Linked DNA regions of Homo sapiens: all the other regions are linked to region 5. Evidence: promoter capture Hi-C in human tissues and cell types (Jung and others, 2019). All regions are on one chromosome and are shown on one strand. Each heading gives the region's core, a stretch centred on a gene start or on the middle of the fragment in contact. The rest is flanking DNA. Distances are from core to core; before and after follow the strand shown. Region 1 overlaps SLC20A2 (solute carrier family 20 member 2). Region 2 holds the start of SLC20A2 (solute carrier family 20 member 2). Region 3 overlaps SLC20A2 (solute carrier family 20 member 2). Region 4 overlaps RNF170 (ring finger protein 170). Region 5 holds the start of CHRNB3 (cholinergic receptor nicotinic beta 3 subunit).

Region 1 (2,700 bases), core at 128-2,627, 210 kb before region 5:
AGACCAGCCTGGCCAACATGGTGAAAATCTCTCTACATGGTAAAAATCCGTCTCTACTAAAAATACAAAAAATTAGCCAGGTGTAGGGGCAGGTCCCTGTAATCCCAGCTACTCAGGGGGCTGAGGCAGGAGAGTCGCTTGAACCCAGGAGGCAGAGGTTGCAGTGAGCTGAGATTGTGCCATTGCACTCCAGCCTGGGCAACAAGAGCAAAACTCAGTCTCTTAAAGAAAAACAACTGGGCTGGGCACAGTGGCTCACGCCTGTAATCCCAGCACTTTGGGAGGCCAAGCTGGGTGGATCACTTGAGGTCAGGAGTTCGAGACCACCCTGGCCAACATGGTGAGACTCTGTTGTTTCCGTCTCTACTAAAATCCGTCTCTACTAAAAATACAAAAATTAGGTGGGCATGGTGGCAGGTGCCTATAATCCCACCTACCAGGGAGGCTGAGGCGGAGGCATTGGTTGAACCCAGGAGGCAGAGGTTGCAGTAAGGCGAGATCGTGCCATTGCACTCCAGCCTGAGTGACAAGAGCAAAACTCCGTCTTAAAAACAAACAAACTAATTAACTGTATTTGGATAGGAGAAACACATTTATAATGGAATAGGTTGCAGCCCACCGAAGTGAGCTCCCACTGGAAATGTGGACTCCCCAGCAGTAGAGACTTTTAAAGTAGATCACCGCCTTGCTGGAGAGTCTGAGGCACACTACTGTCTGGAAGCGAGGGACGAGAATAGCCAAGCTTTATGAATTTATTCCCACTCTCTAACACAGAAAAGACTCTTCAACATTTTCTCCTTTCTTCCTTTCCGTATGCACTATAAATGGATTCCCCGCCCTCCCAGATATTCTAGGTATTTTCTTCACTCATAACCAAAAATAGGTAGATATTCGTGAGCAAATCGCTTAACATATGAAACTTCTATCAAATGACAAACCTAGGATCACTTGTTCCAATTCTGTGCCCTGAAATGTTGGACTGTTTGGCTAAGTTCCAAGAGCTATATTAGGAAAATACTTTCCCTTCAGAGACAGTTTAAAATGGAACCATGTATGAAAATAGATATGGCTCTTACATGTTTATTTGCTAACTTTGTTTTGATTCTATTGGAGGTTCAATAAAAATATGGATGGTACTTATAAAACTTTTTGTTCCTGGTACAACCGCATATTCTTTCCATTAATGCAACATTAATATAAACAGAGGAGCTGACAAATGAAATTATCTTAACTCCTTTCCATGCTCAACTTACAGCCCCATATTTCTTGTTATCATTCCAGAGATTCTTAAGCAATTGTTCTTAGCCAGCAGAAAAAACAACAGAGGACAAATGATTATTAAGTTGATCTAGGCAGCCTCTTCCTCTTTGCCATGTGGGAGAATCTGTTCAATTCTCTGAAGTGCTTCATCAGAAATCTGAAAACCTGATTCTACTTCACTAATAACTTGCTAAATTGGCAGTATAAACACACTAAACAAGGCAATATAGTCCCAAGAGCGTTCATTTGATTGGTAAGTCAGGTAGAAATTTAGCAGTTCCTCTCATCTTCTATGGAGACTGAGAGTGAAATCTTTTTACTAAATTAAGAAACCATGAGCACTGGCTTGATATTATTAATACCTTCACAAAACCATGGGATGGCAGTAAAAAACACAAAAGAGAAAAGACATTTTATAAGATTTCTTTGAAAACTATTTCCTCACTCTGAGAATGCTCATGGCTCTTAATTCCCCATGCACGATAAAGATCATCTTTCTTGCACTCTGTGCTTTCAAAGCTATCTTCCAGCTTTGCAGGAGAGGCCATGGGTGCAGAATGGGGTGCAGCCCCATGGTGTCCCCTGACAGATCCAATGTGCAGTCTGATGAAGTGTGGGTGGGTGTGGTCTATGGCTGGCAGCCACCATGATCCAAGAGAGCCTGACTTGGGAGGGCAGCCAGGCAGCTAAAGGCTGCTCCCATATCATGCGGGAGCACCTGGGCCTGGCCTTCCAGACCCCGAGGGCATCCAGCCAGCTGGGTGTTCTGCTTGCTGGTCTACACGCAGCCACTGAGCATCTCGGCCATGCAGCTGGCCCTGAGACAGCAGCAGCACAAAAAGGCCTCCAGGCCAAGAGGTGAACAGGGCACACGACTAAGCACAAGGCCTGCATTTGGACCAAAGGGCACCCTGGCAAACCTAAGCCCAGAGTGAGCCCTCGAAACTGCGGGAGGGAGGTGCTAACAGCCCAGCCTCCAGCCCACCTTTCCTCCTTCGCAGAGGTCAGGACAATCACAGCCCTTCCCTTCTCCCACCCACTGTGCCTGTAAAGGGGGGCTGAGATGACCAGGCATCAGAGTCACTCATTTATTTCCTCACTGCTTCTCTCACTGCATGGAATGTTCAGGGAGGTCAGCTGATTTCCCTGGGTACACTCACGGGGTAATGGACACAATGCGTACAAATAAAAGACCCAGAAAGCACCCCCCTCCAAAAAAGGGGAGCTTGTCAAGCTCCCTGTGCCTGCATTTTTCCTTTAGAAAACTTGGGGCTAGGCCGAACGCGGTGGCTCACGCCTGTAATTCAAGCACTTTGGGAGGTCGAGGCGGGTGAATCGCCTGAGGTCAGGAGTTCGAGACCAGCCTGGCCAACATGGTGAAACCTCATCTCTACTAAAAATACAAAAATTGGCCGGGTGTAGTGGCGGGCGCCTGTAATC
Region 2 (2,700 bases), core at 116-2,615, 200 kb before region 5:
CATTTGCATTTAAAATCAGACAATACATAATAACAAAGAAGTCTTTAACTAAATCTTTTCAAAATGGGAAAATGGCTTTCACAATACTAACTGTGGACCTGCCTCCTTCCTTGCTCTAGAGATGACAGGCATAGATAGCTGGTGAGCACCTATCCTATCGCCTAGGAGAACTGTTTTATTAATAACAATATTCCTAAAGCTGATACATTTACTTGCTAATTGATAAAGAAATTCCTGCCTGGTTCTCTGCTGTAAGCAAACTGTTTGGCTTGAGGTCAGTCCACATTGAAAACACACTTCTAAATAAGCAAGATGATTCAAATTTAATTTAAAATATTCAATATCAAAATCTTTTGTTTTCTTCAGTACAAATTTAAGTTGGTAATAATGTGTTAGATGAACTGCAGTTAAGGTTACAGAATCCCATGGCCTTTGGTTACTTTTGATAACTAACTCAGTCTAAAAGAGGATGCTTTAAATTATTCTCTAAAACCTTCTTCCTAAATTAATTTTTTAAAGTGCTTCTCTTTAGGCATATATGGGTTTATTTTTTAAGCACAAAATCCCCCTTAAAAGGATAAAAAACTGTCCATCTATACATTCAAGAAAATTACATTTGACACTCCATTATTTCTACAAAATAAACTTGTAGCACAGAGTATAACAGGAATTAACTTTCAACATTTTTTTCTCAAGAATTAGGTTACCATAGTAGAAAACAAAGCTCAATGACACAATACAATGTTTCTGTATTTACAGAAACCATATCCATTAATCAAATATTTTAACATAAAATAATAATCTACAGATTGCTTTTGCAAAAATAAGTAAGAATCGAAAACTTTTTCTTGGGCAAATTGAATAAGGCAGATTTATTGCAGTAGGAGACATTTAAAGAAAAACCTTTTGCCACCTCTCTTAGCTTTCTCTAACGTACCAACCTGAAAGCTTCCAGTTTTCCCAAGAGATAAACATTACTATGACGGTAACATTAGGAAGATTTAAGGAGAAAAGAACAAAGAGAAGTCTTAAAATTCCACCCAGTACTTACAAGTAGTTTCCAAGAAAACTGAGCCACAATTCTTCAGAAGACTGCTCTCCTGATCACAAACACAATCTGAAGTCTAAAATAGATATCCTACCACATTAGGCCGAGAAGTCACATTTCAGCTTGCTAACTTCTACTTTTACAACTCATAGAACTAACCCCGGCTAAAATTAACTGCAGCCAAGCAGCAGGCAGGAACACGCTGATTTGCATCATGTGTGCCGGGATTTATTCACTAGGACAACATCGGTGTCCTCTTAATGGGAAATGCGGCCAAGGGGCGTGCCCTGGTGAACAATACATAGCATCATGATTATGCTAATTACTGAATTCAGTCCAATAATACTAACTTCTTTTAAGTTGTTTTTGCAAGTACTGACAAAGAGAAGGAGTAAGCTTTTTCCCAACAGGCATTCACTTGATTTTTAAGCACATTCAAATCAGACCAAACTTTGGCAACAAGGTGGCAGTGCTGTGTGCTCTTCACAAGCAAAAGCAAAGCAAAAGGACATTCTGTCCGATTATTTAAACAGCGTGATTAGATGCAGCACTACGTGAAATTAAATAGACACAGAATATACATATCAGTAAGTCTATCCACCAGAATCCTGAAATAAAAGCTTTTTCTTTCTCTATAATGAACTGATTGCAGGGACTTGCTTTCTGGCTCTGCCTCCTCCTGCACCTCCCAAGGAGTCGCTATGAAGACACAGATTCAGTAATAAATCACAACTGAGAATAAACATCTCAAATATTTGCAAAGGCATTGTCCTTGGCAAGAAGCATTTTAAGGTGGATTTAACTCCTTGGCTAGAAAAATTGTCCTCTGTAGGTGACTGACCATCTACAAAGCATGTTGGAACTCAAGTTAACAGGTAAAGACCCCAAACATACAGCTGACACTTAAAAGAAAATCAGAACATGAAAAACTTTCTCTCGAAAATATAAGTACAACTTATAACAAAGACACAAAACCGCTTAGTATCTACTCAAGACGGTTTGGGACTAGTTTGCTTTAGACTAAGTTCTGATGACATATTTTGCTCTTATTGAACACTCTATGAAAGATATCAAAGCACTTTACAAACATCAATCAAATCTCCAAGCATCTTTGGGAGATGTCATTTTCCTCTTTTTTTTTTTTTCCCACAGACAGGTAAAAGACAGGGTAATTCCATTTCAACGACTTCAACCAACCCTGGATCACCCCATCTCCTCCTGAGACCTTTATAACATCTTCCGTATTAACCACTTACCTATAATCCTATAGACCTTTTCAGAGCCATTTGTTTTCCTCATTTTAAAATGTCATATGTTAGTTTGGACTTCAGGAGATTCACTCTACTTAACACCCAGATGCCAGGCCTGAACCCCAGGGGCTTAAAAAGCCCTCCTTGACTCTCTCTTGCAGACAGGTATCCTGCAACATGGATCCCTAAAACATGGCGATGCCCTCAGGAGGCACTGTCCATCTGCAGCCTGCTGCCCAAAGCACAAACCGGTTGATCTTCATTGGTGTGAGTTGGACATCACCAGCACAATCTCCCTCCTGTTGTTTACAAACACTGCTGGCTGCTGATCTGAGATTGCATCCCCTCGGCCTAACCTGAGGCTCTGTGCCAGCACCTGCCCCACCTCTGCAAGAGGGTGGC
Region 3 (2,700 bases), core at 71-2,570, 240 kb before region 5:
TAAACTTTTTTTTTTTTTTTGAGACAAAGTCTCGCTGTGTCACCCAGGCTGGAGGGCAGTGGCGCAAGCTTGGCTCACTGCAACCTCCACCTCCTGGGTTCAGGTTCAAGCAATTATCCTGCCTCAGCCTCCTGAGTAGCTGGGACTACAGGCGCGCACCATCACGCCCAGCTAATTTTTGTATTTTTAGTAGAGACGGGGTTTCACCAGGTTGGCCAGGATGGTCTTGATCTCTTGACCTTGTGATCCACCCACCTCGGCCTCCCAAAGTGTTGGGATTACAGGCATGAGCCACTGCGCCCGGCTGAGTATTTAAGCCTTTAAGATCAATGTTCTGAACACTACACAGATACCACAGTAAAAGGTTATATAATGTTAGAATCATTTAGGAATACTTTATTCCCAGTACTGAAACATATAAAATATAATTAGATATTCTTAATAAAATCTGAGGAACATTACATTGAGAACTCCTAGTTTGAGAAAGTAATAAGGATTTCCACTATTTTGGAAGAGGGCGCTTTTCGATTATGATAGGACATGTCATTTAGCAGAAATTTCATCTTTAAAACACAGAGAGGGAGCCTTTTCTGTCAACATGGCCAATAACCAAATCTTCATCCATAACAGACATTAAGAAGATGAAAACCAGCACAAACTAACACATCTGTTGATGTCACAGATCCCACAGTCTGGCTGTAGGAGGCGCATCTCACAAACAGAAGAGGAATATTCTCTAGCAAACATGTACAGAAATGTTTAACAGAATGCTACTAGCTCATCAGTGCTGAAATGGGTGCAAACAAGAATACCATACATAAGCTTATTCATTTTCCTATTCAAGGTCTAAAAGAAAAGAATTAGGCCAGGTGCAGTAGGGCTCACACCTGTAATCCCAGCACTTTGGGAAGCTGAGGCAGGAGGATTACTTGAGGCCAGGAGTTTGATACCAGCCTGGGCAATATAGAGACCCCATCTCTACAAAAAATAAAAAATTAGCTGGGTGTGGTGGCACACACCTGTGGTTCCGGCTACTCAGGGGGCTGAGGTGGGAGGATTGCTTGGGCCCATGAGGTCAAGGCTGCAGTGGGCTATGATTGCACCACTGCATTCCAGCCTGGGCAATAAAGAAAAAAAAAAAAAAAAAGGCCGGGCATGGTGGCTCATGCCTGTAATCCCAGCACTTTGGGAGGCCAAGGTGGGGCGGATCATGAGGTCAGGAGACTGAGACCATCCTGGCTAATATGGTGAAACCCCTGTCTCTACTAAAAATACAAAAAATTAGCTGGGCGAGGAGGAGGGCGCCTGTAGTCCCAGCTACTCGGGAGGCTGAGGCAGGAGAATGGCATGAACCCAGGAGGCGGAGCTTGCAGTGAGCCAAGATAGCGCCACTGCACTCCAGCCTGGGCAACAGAGCGAGCCTCTGTCTCAAAAATAAAATAAAATAAAAAATAATTTTTAACCCCCCCCCCCACAAAAAACCTCTGAACCTTTATACAAAAGAACAAAAGCGGCCAGGCGCAGTGGCTCACGCCTGTAATCCCAGCACTTTGGGAGGTCGAGGCAGGCGGATCACAAGGTCAGGAGTTCGAGACCAGCCTGGCCAACATAGTGAAAACCTGTGGTGTGCTCCTGTAATCCCAGCTACTAAGGAGGCTGAGGCAGGAGAATCGCTTGAACCTGGGAGGCGGAGGTTGCAGTTTTCCAAGATAGCGCGATTGCACTCCATCCTGGGTGAGAGAGTGAGACTCTATCTCAAAAAAAAAAAAAAAAAAAAAAAACATAAAAAATAACAACAAAATCCATGAGAATGACAAGGAAAGGAGTAATTCAGCAAAGAAAATCATCATTGGCTTCGGTATCTAAAAAAACAAAGCATGGCTTCTAGTCTCTGGATAAACTGGTCTGATATTTCCAGGGGTCTGTACTCTGTGCTGTGAACGGCTTTAGAGCTCCGCTGGGCATTGCTGATGTGTGGACTGTCCCGCTCACTGGGTGCCAGGCATGGCCCCAGGTGCTCCACACCCTCTCCTGACCCCTGCACAACCCTGTAGGCCTGTGGGATTAGATCAGGTTCTGAGGCTCAGAGAGGCTAAGCTATAGTGGCAACACAGCTGCGTAAATGGCAGAGTGGGGATTTAATTTTTTTTTCTAACTTGAAAGTCTGTTGCCTTTGTACTCTACATATCTCTTGGGTATTTAATTAAGACAAGTAAATGCATTTACCACTCTTTTTACTATTCTATAATGACCATGAGTAACGCATTTTACTATCAGCCAACAACTCCAGCACCTATTCCATAATGACCATGAGTAATGCTTTTTACTGTCAGCCAACAATACCAGCACCAAATAAACTGATACTGTTAGAATACAATGCACTTTGCCCCTGGAGTATGCTTCCAAGGGATCCTTACCTGGTGCTCCTGTGTACATGATGGAAAAGACATTGATTGCTATGGTAGCAGCATAGAATACTGGGAGTGCCCGGAGGCCATTGGGAACAGGGTCTTCCTGTAGGAAGACAAGGAGACAGAGTGGAAGGTCAGGATCCCAGCAGCATTTGGAGCCAACACAGACAAAATGATACAAAATACTGTTACAAGAAACTCTTCCCAAACCCCAGTGTGGCCAAAAGGATGGGCGTTGTCACTGCCTGTGATCTGCTCCACTTCTGCAGAAATGGCATTGGCTGGGGCC
Region 4 (2,700 bases), core at 7-2,506, 190 kb after region 5:
AGTGAGCCGAGATCACGCCACTGCACTCCAGCCTGGGCAACAGAGTGAGACTCGGTCTCAAAAAAAAAAATAATAATAATAATAGAAAAGGCCCAAGGACAGAGCCCTGCAGCAATATACAATGTCCTTCTATTTGGTGTATATTAAAACATTAGTCAGGAATCCTAAGAACAACCTGCTTAGTGGAGTTCACTTAACTCTGCTATCATCTAGTCATTATTTCCCCCATGATATCCACAGTGTATCACCAGTATCAATCACTCTGGATTATCACTCTATAAAATACCCGATTGAAATCAAGATAATGTTACCCTAATAAGAGACTATCTTGGATCACTGCAACCTCTGCCTCCCAAGTTCAAGTGATTCTCACGCCTCAGCCGCCCAAGTAGCTGGGATTATAGGCACCTGCCACCATGCCCAGCTAATTTTTGTATTTTTAGTAGAGACGAGGGTTTCACCATGTTGGCCAGGCTAGTCTCGAACTCCTGACCTCAGGTGATCCGCCTGCCTCAGCCTCCCAAGGTGCTGGGATTACCGGCGTGAGCCACCACATCCAGCCTAAATTAATTTTAGAATCAGGTGCAGTGGTGCATACCTGTAGTCCCAGCAACCTGGGAAGCTGGGATGGGAGGACTGCTTGAGTCCAGGAGTTCAAGTCCAACTGGGGCAATGTAGCGAGACCCTGTCTCTAAAATAAATAAATAGGCTGGGCATAGTGGCTCATGAGTGTAATCCCAGCACTTTGGGAGGCTGAGTCGGGTGGTTCACTTGAGGTCAGGAGTTTGAGACCAGCCTGGCCAACCTAGCGAAATCCTGTCTCTACAAAAAAATACAAAAAATTAGGGCCAGGTGCAGTGGCTCAAGCCTGTAATCCCAGCACTTTGGGAGGCTGACGCAGGTGGATCACCTCAGGTCAGGAGTTTGAGACCAGCCTGATCAACATGGAGAAACCCCATCTCTACTAAAAATATAAAATAAGCCGGGCATGGTGGCATGTGCCTGTAATCCCAGCTATTTGGGAGGCTGAGGCAGGAGAATCGCTTGAACCCCAGAGGCAGAGGTTGTGGTGAGCTGAGACAGTGCCATGGCACTCCAGCCTGGACGACACATTGAGACTCCGTCTCAAAAAATAAATAAATAAATAAATAAGTAAAAAAATTAATTCTAATATTAGTTCCCTTTTTACTATACAAGTCTTTTTTTGCCTCAATTTTTCCATTTAAAACTGAAAGTATTTTGCACTTATCATCTATATCACCTACAAGTTGATGGATTTAATTATGGAAATTAAAGTTTTTTAAATTGCCATACGCCAATAGAAAGTACTAATATTTTATTCAAAATGTGGATGATAAATTTAATTATTATTTGGTAAGACAGCTGATGACAGGAAATATATGTTAGCATTCAAAGCCCCGTGGAAAATAAAATACCTTAGTAAACATCTACAATCACTGAGATCTGTTACTTGCTGTTCATATTAAGTATTATACATTATTAGGGGTCAAAAAGTCAGCAGCCCTTGCAAATCTACTCAATTCTTTTGTCCTTAAATCTCACCTGAAAAGTGCATATACCAGGGTAGCAATCAAAGCGAAACTGACCACAACTGCCACAAGTACTTGGTCGCTTACTCCTTCTATAACTGAATCATCATCCAGTTTCAAACTTTGAACTTCACCTTGATATTTGGCCATTCCAGGTCTAAAATAAGAAGAAACAAGATGAGAGTTACAAATGACACAGTGAAAATGAAATATACTAATAAAAGCAATGTAAATATAACTGACTTCTAATATATTTGGTTTCTGATAGGCTGCAATTAAGTACAACTCCAGTGGGGACTGATGGAGTTCTTTAAAATTTGCCAGACACATTATTTTGTGGAGAACAAAATTCTATTTCTATTTTTTTTGGATGGAGTCTCTTGCTCTGTTGCCAGGCTGGAGTGCAGTGATGCGGATCTCAGCTCACTGCAACGTCCGCCTCCCGGGTTCAAGCAATTCCCCTCCCTCAGCCTCCCAAGTAGCTGGGACTACAGGCGCGCACCACTACGCCTGGCTAATTTTTTGTATTTTAGTAGAGACAGGGTTTCACCGTGTTAGCCAGGATGGTCTTGATCTCCTGACCTCGTGATCCACCTGCCTCGGCCTCCCAAAGTGCCGGGATTACAGGCATGAGCCACTGCACCCAGCCAAATTCTATTTCTTTTAAGGAAAACAATTACTATAATTTATCATTTATTTATGTATTTTTTAAAAATGTTTTTTCCTCTTCAAGCTTAACCCCTTTAAAAAAAAAAAGCCATTCTTGGGCCAGATGCAGTGGCTCACGCCTGTAATCCCAGCATTATGGGAGGCTGAGGCAGGCGGATCACCTGAGGTCAGAAGTTCGAGACCAGCCTGGTCAACATGGTGAAACCCCGTCTCTACTAAAAATACAAAATTTAGCCGGGTGACGTGTGCCTGTAATGTCAGCTACTCTGGAGGCTAAGGCAGGAGAATCGCTTGAACCTGGGAGGCAGAGGTTGTAGTGAGGCCCAGAGAGCGCCACTGTACTCCAGCCTGGGAGACAGAGCAAGACCCTGTCCCCCGCCCCCCAACCTCCCCACCCCCCAACCAAAAACAATAAATAAATAAAAGCCATTCTTATCCAACTGCTCTCTTCTTATTCCTGAATACCAAATAAGTTCTCTAA
Region 5 (2,700 bases), core at 163-2,662:
GAGACCATTACAAATTCTCAGCAGGCTGGGAGCACAGTTGAGATGGATAGGAGGAAATCAGTGCATGGCTCCTTCCTTCCTCCTTGCATTCCCACAACGTTCTCAAGCATTTGCAGGTGTCAGGCCCTGGACACAGAGAGATACAGAGGAGACTCCAGAGGGCTGGAGACCAAGCCCTCCTGCAGGAGCTGGTGGTCTAGGAAGGGAGGCCAGGCAGGGCAGCGACATTGTGATGTGAGGGGCTCTGAGACAGGGGCCCTGAGGAACAGACAGGGCTCAAGAGCTCAGGGTCCCGGGGTCCTGGGCTAGACCTCTTTTCCACACATGATGCCTCCTTACCGAGCACCCTCTGGGTGTCTCAAACTCACTAATGGCACACAGAGGAGGGTTAAATTAAGAAATTTAAAAATTGGACTAAATCACTGCCGCTAAGACAGAATTCCTCCATGCCCTGGAGTGGGTTCCTCCAGCACTCAGTTCCCAACCAGATAGGTCTTGGCTCCCACCTGGCCCTCTTGTCTGTCTAGCCCTGACTTTGTACTTGCCATTCATTTGATGTATCATGCATTTATCAAGGGCCCTCTGGGTGTGCACAGCACTGAACTAGATGAAATCTGATCAACTGTGAAGAAGAAAGGATGGTGTTATTAGTGTCCAAGTCTCATACATAAAACACCACTAACCTCCCACCCTACTGTCCCCTGCAGTGACCAGAAGGTGGGCCTGGTGGGGTCAAGGGAGCCACAGAGAATGTGCTGATATTAACACATGTGGGAACCAGCAGAATAGGGAGGCTCCAGGACATACTCATGACTTCAGGTCCAACTGGAAAAGAGAATAGAGAGGCTGGGCGCAGTGGTTCATGCCTGTAATCCCACCACTTTGGGAGGCCAAGGCGGGCGGATCTCCTGAGGTCAGGAGTTCAAGACCAACCTGGCCAACATGGTGAAACCCTGTCTCTACAAAAATACAAAAATTAGCTGGGCATGATGGCAGGTGCCTATAATCCCAGCTACTCAGGAGGCTGAGGTGGGAGAATGGCTTGAACCTGGGAGACGGAGGTTGCAGTGAGCCGAGATTGCACCATTGCACTCCAGCCTGGGTGACAGAGTGAGACTCCATATCAAAAAAAAAAAAAAAAGAATAAAAAGAAAAAGAAAAGAGAATAGAGAAATAACGGGGATGAGAAACTTTTCACTATGGATGTGGTAAAGTGTGGTTCTTCTGTACGCAGATCTCCAACTGTAAGAAAAATAGCACAGAACATTCAGAAGTTGTCTAGTTTCATCCTTTCTCCAGTGCCCCGCATCTCTTGCAAGGGAGTAAATTAATAAGTCAGGAGTTAGGACCCAGAGATATGTTTTAGACTTACACGATCTGACAGCTGACTGCAAATCAATGAAGTGCACTTTGAGAAGCGGCACACTCGGCGAGAGGGGTTGAGATTGTTTTATTCCACTCCAGGTGTTGCTGTCCTCTTGGGTTCCACTTCGGATTTTGAACCCCTGTATTTTCTTTTCAAAACCCCCTTTTCCAGTGGAAATGCTCTGTTGTTAAAAAGGAAGAAACTGTCTTTCTGAAACTGACATCACGATGCTCCCAGATTTTATGCTGGTTCTCATCGTCCTTGGCATCCCTTCCTCAGGTAAGCACAAGTCACAGTAAATTAAAACTACAGTTGCAGAATTATTTAAGCAGAGGAGGCAAAACTATGGTGTTGATAATGTTAGAATTACAATATGTAATGCACAAGATACATTTAGGATAACCTTTAAAATGTGGCCCAAATGAGTAATTCTGTGAGATGTGGGGTTTTTTTTGCTGAAGAAATCATATCTATGATTTTCATAATGTTTATGTTTTTGTCATTTGCTGCGTTTCTCCTTCTGAATCACTATGAGCTTGGTAAGAAAATACAAAAGCAGGAAAAACATTATTGAATGCACTGAGCATTACTCAGAGAATTGTTCAAATATTTGGCACAGAAATTTACTATATCAACATTTTTCTATCATATTTACCAATAATTTCTATATCTGCATGTAGATATTTAATTTTGTCCAATATGCCCTGTAGGCCTATATATTTTAATAAATCTGTGTATGTAGGTAGATTTAGCATGTTTATATATCACAATTAAACACCAATGTATCAAAACTCTATGTGTTTTATGTGACTATTATCAACTGAAAATAGAGGAATTTTTGATAAGGATAAAGGACAAATAAAAGGAAAAAGTGAAAGATAGAGACAGAGATGCAGAGAAAGAACAAAAAGAGAAAAAGAAAGGGGAATAAAGTACTGAAAGGCTTTGGGGATTGGTCATTTGCACCTGCCAATTTCCTGGGTTTGGGAATCTTTTCACTTTTTGTGTAACTTGAGAACAGAAAGTTTTCCCCCATTGAATCAGAAACCATCTGAAACCGCAGCCAGATGGTGAGAAAAGTGTCAGTTCACTAGCAATTTGTATTAATTTCTCAGTAGTATTTTTGCCACGTTTGATTATTGTAATTTTCAAATGGAGAACTGGAGACACTAAGGGAGATTTGCCCAAATCCAGAAATAAATTCTACATTTCAAGTTCCCAAGGCTGCGAGGCACCTGAACATTATCCTGTTGTCAAAAACGCCTTTTCTCAGACCAAGGACTCAAAGTCAAACAGGAATTTCTAAATGCAGAAAGCCTCAAACTCACTTTCAA

The links. Contacts are between HindIII fragments. The study calls those that stand out against the background at their distance.
Region 1: a contact is called between a fragment that was not itself captured here and the fragment with the promoter of CHRNB3 in region 5, in 2 of the 25 tissues and cell types used here (aorta and hippocampus).
Region 2: a contact is called between a fragment that was not itself captured here and the fragment with the promoter of CHRNB3 in region 5, in 4 of the 25 tissues and cell types used here (H1 embryonic stem cells, heart left ventricle, liver and 1 more).
Region 3: a fragment that was not itself captured here is called in contact with the fragment with the promoter of CHRNB3 in region 5 in 3 of the 25 tissues and cell types used here (H1 embryonic stem cells, dorsolateral prefrontal cortex and neural progenitor cells).
Region 4: a fragment that was not itself captured here is called in contact with the fragment with the promoter of CHRNB3 in region 5 in 1 of the 25 tissues and cell types used here (lymphoblastoid cells).

The regions. Positions count from the first base shown.
Region 1 is chr8:42,482,825-42,485,524 of GRCh38, forward strand. The region is part of intron 1 of SLC20A2 (solute carrier family 20 member 2); the gene reads right to left. Among named protein-coding and RNA genes, the nearest start is that of SLC20A2, 17 kb to the right of the region's middle. The HindIII fragment of the contact is 5,297 bases long and covers 1-2,700 here.
Region 2 is chr8:42,499,980-42,502,679 of GRCh38, forward strand. It overlaps SLC20A2 (solute carrier family 20 member 2), which reads right to left and starts at 1,252. Exons shown (of 11, transcript NM_001257180.2): 1 at 1,052-1,252. RefSeq lists an enhancer at 2,159-2,700. The HindIII fragment of the contact is 5,530 bases long and covers 1-2,700 here.
Region 3 is chr8:42,457,479-42,460,178 of GRCh38, forward strand. SLC20A2 (solute carrier family 20 member 2) reads right to left here. Exons shown (of 11, transcript NM_001257180.2): 5 at 2,418-2,514. Among named protein-coding and RNA genes, the nearest start is that of SLC20A2, 42 kb to the right of the region's middle. The HindIII fragment of the contact is 6,800 bases long and covers 1-2,700 here.
Region 4 is chr8:42,886,165-42,888,864 of GRCh38, forward strand. RNF170 (ring finger protein 170) reads right to left here. Exons shown (of 7, transcript NM_030954.4): 2 at 1,564-1,707. The coding sequence starts at 1,700. Among named protein-coding and RNA genes, the nearest start is that of MIR4469, 8.8 kb to the right of the region's middle. The HindIII fragment of the contact is 7,579 bases long and covers 1-2,700 here.
Region 5 is chr8:42,695,954-42,698,653 of GRCh38, forward strand. It overlaps CHRNB3 (cholinergic receptor nicotinic beta 3 subunit), which reads left to right and starts at 1,413. Exons shown (of 6, transcript NM_000749.5): 1 at 1,413-1,645. The coding sequence starts at 1,594. LOC124900250 (a long non-coding RNA gene) reads right to left here. Exons shown (of 3, transcript XR_001745887.2): 2 at 1,373-1,547; 3 at 545-622. The HindIII fragment of the contact is 12,880 bases long and covers 1-2,700 here.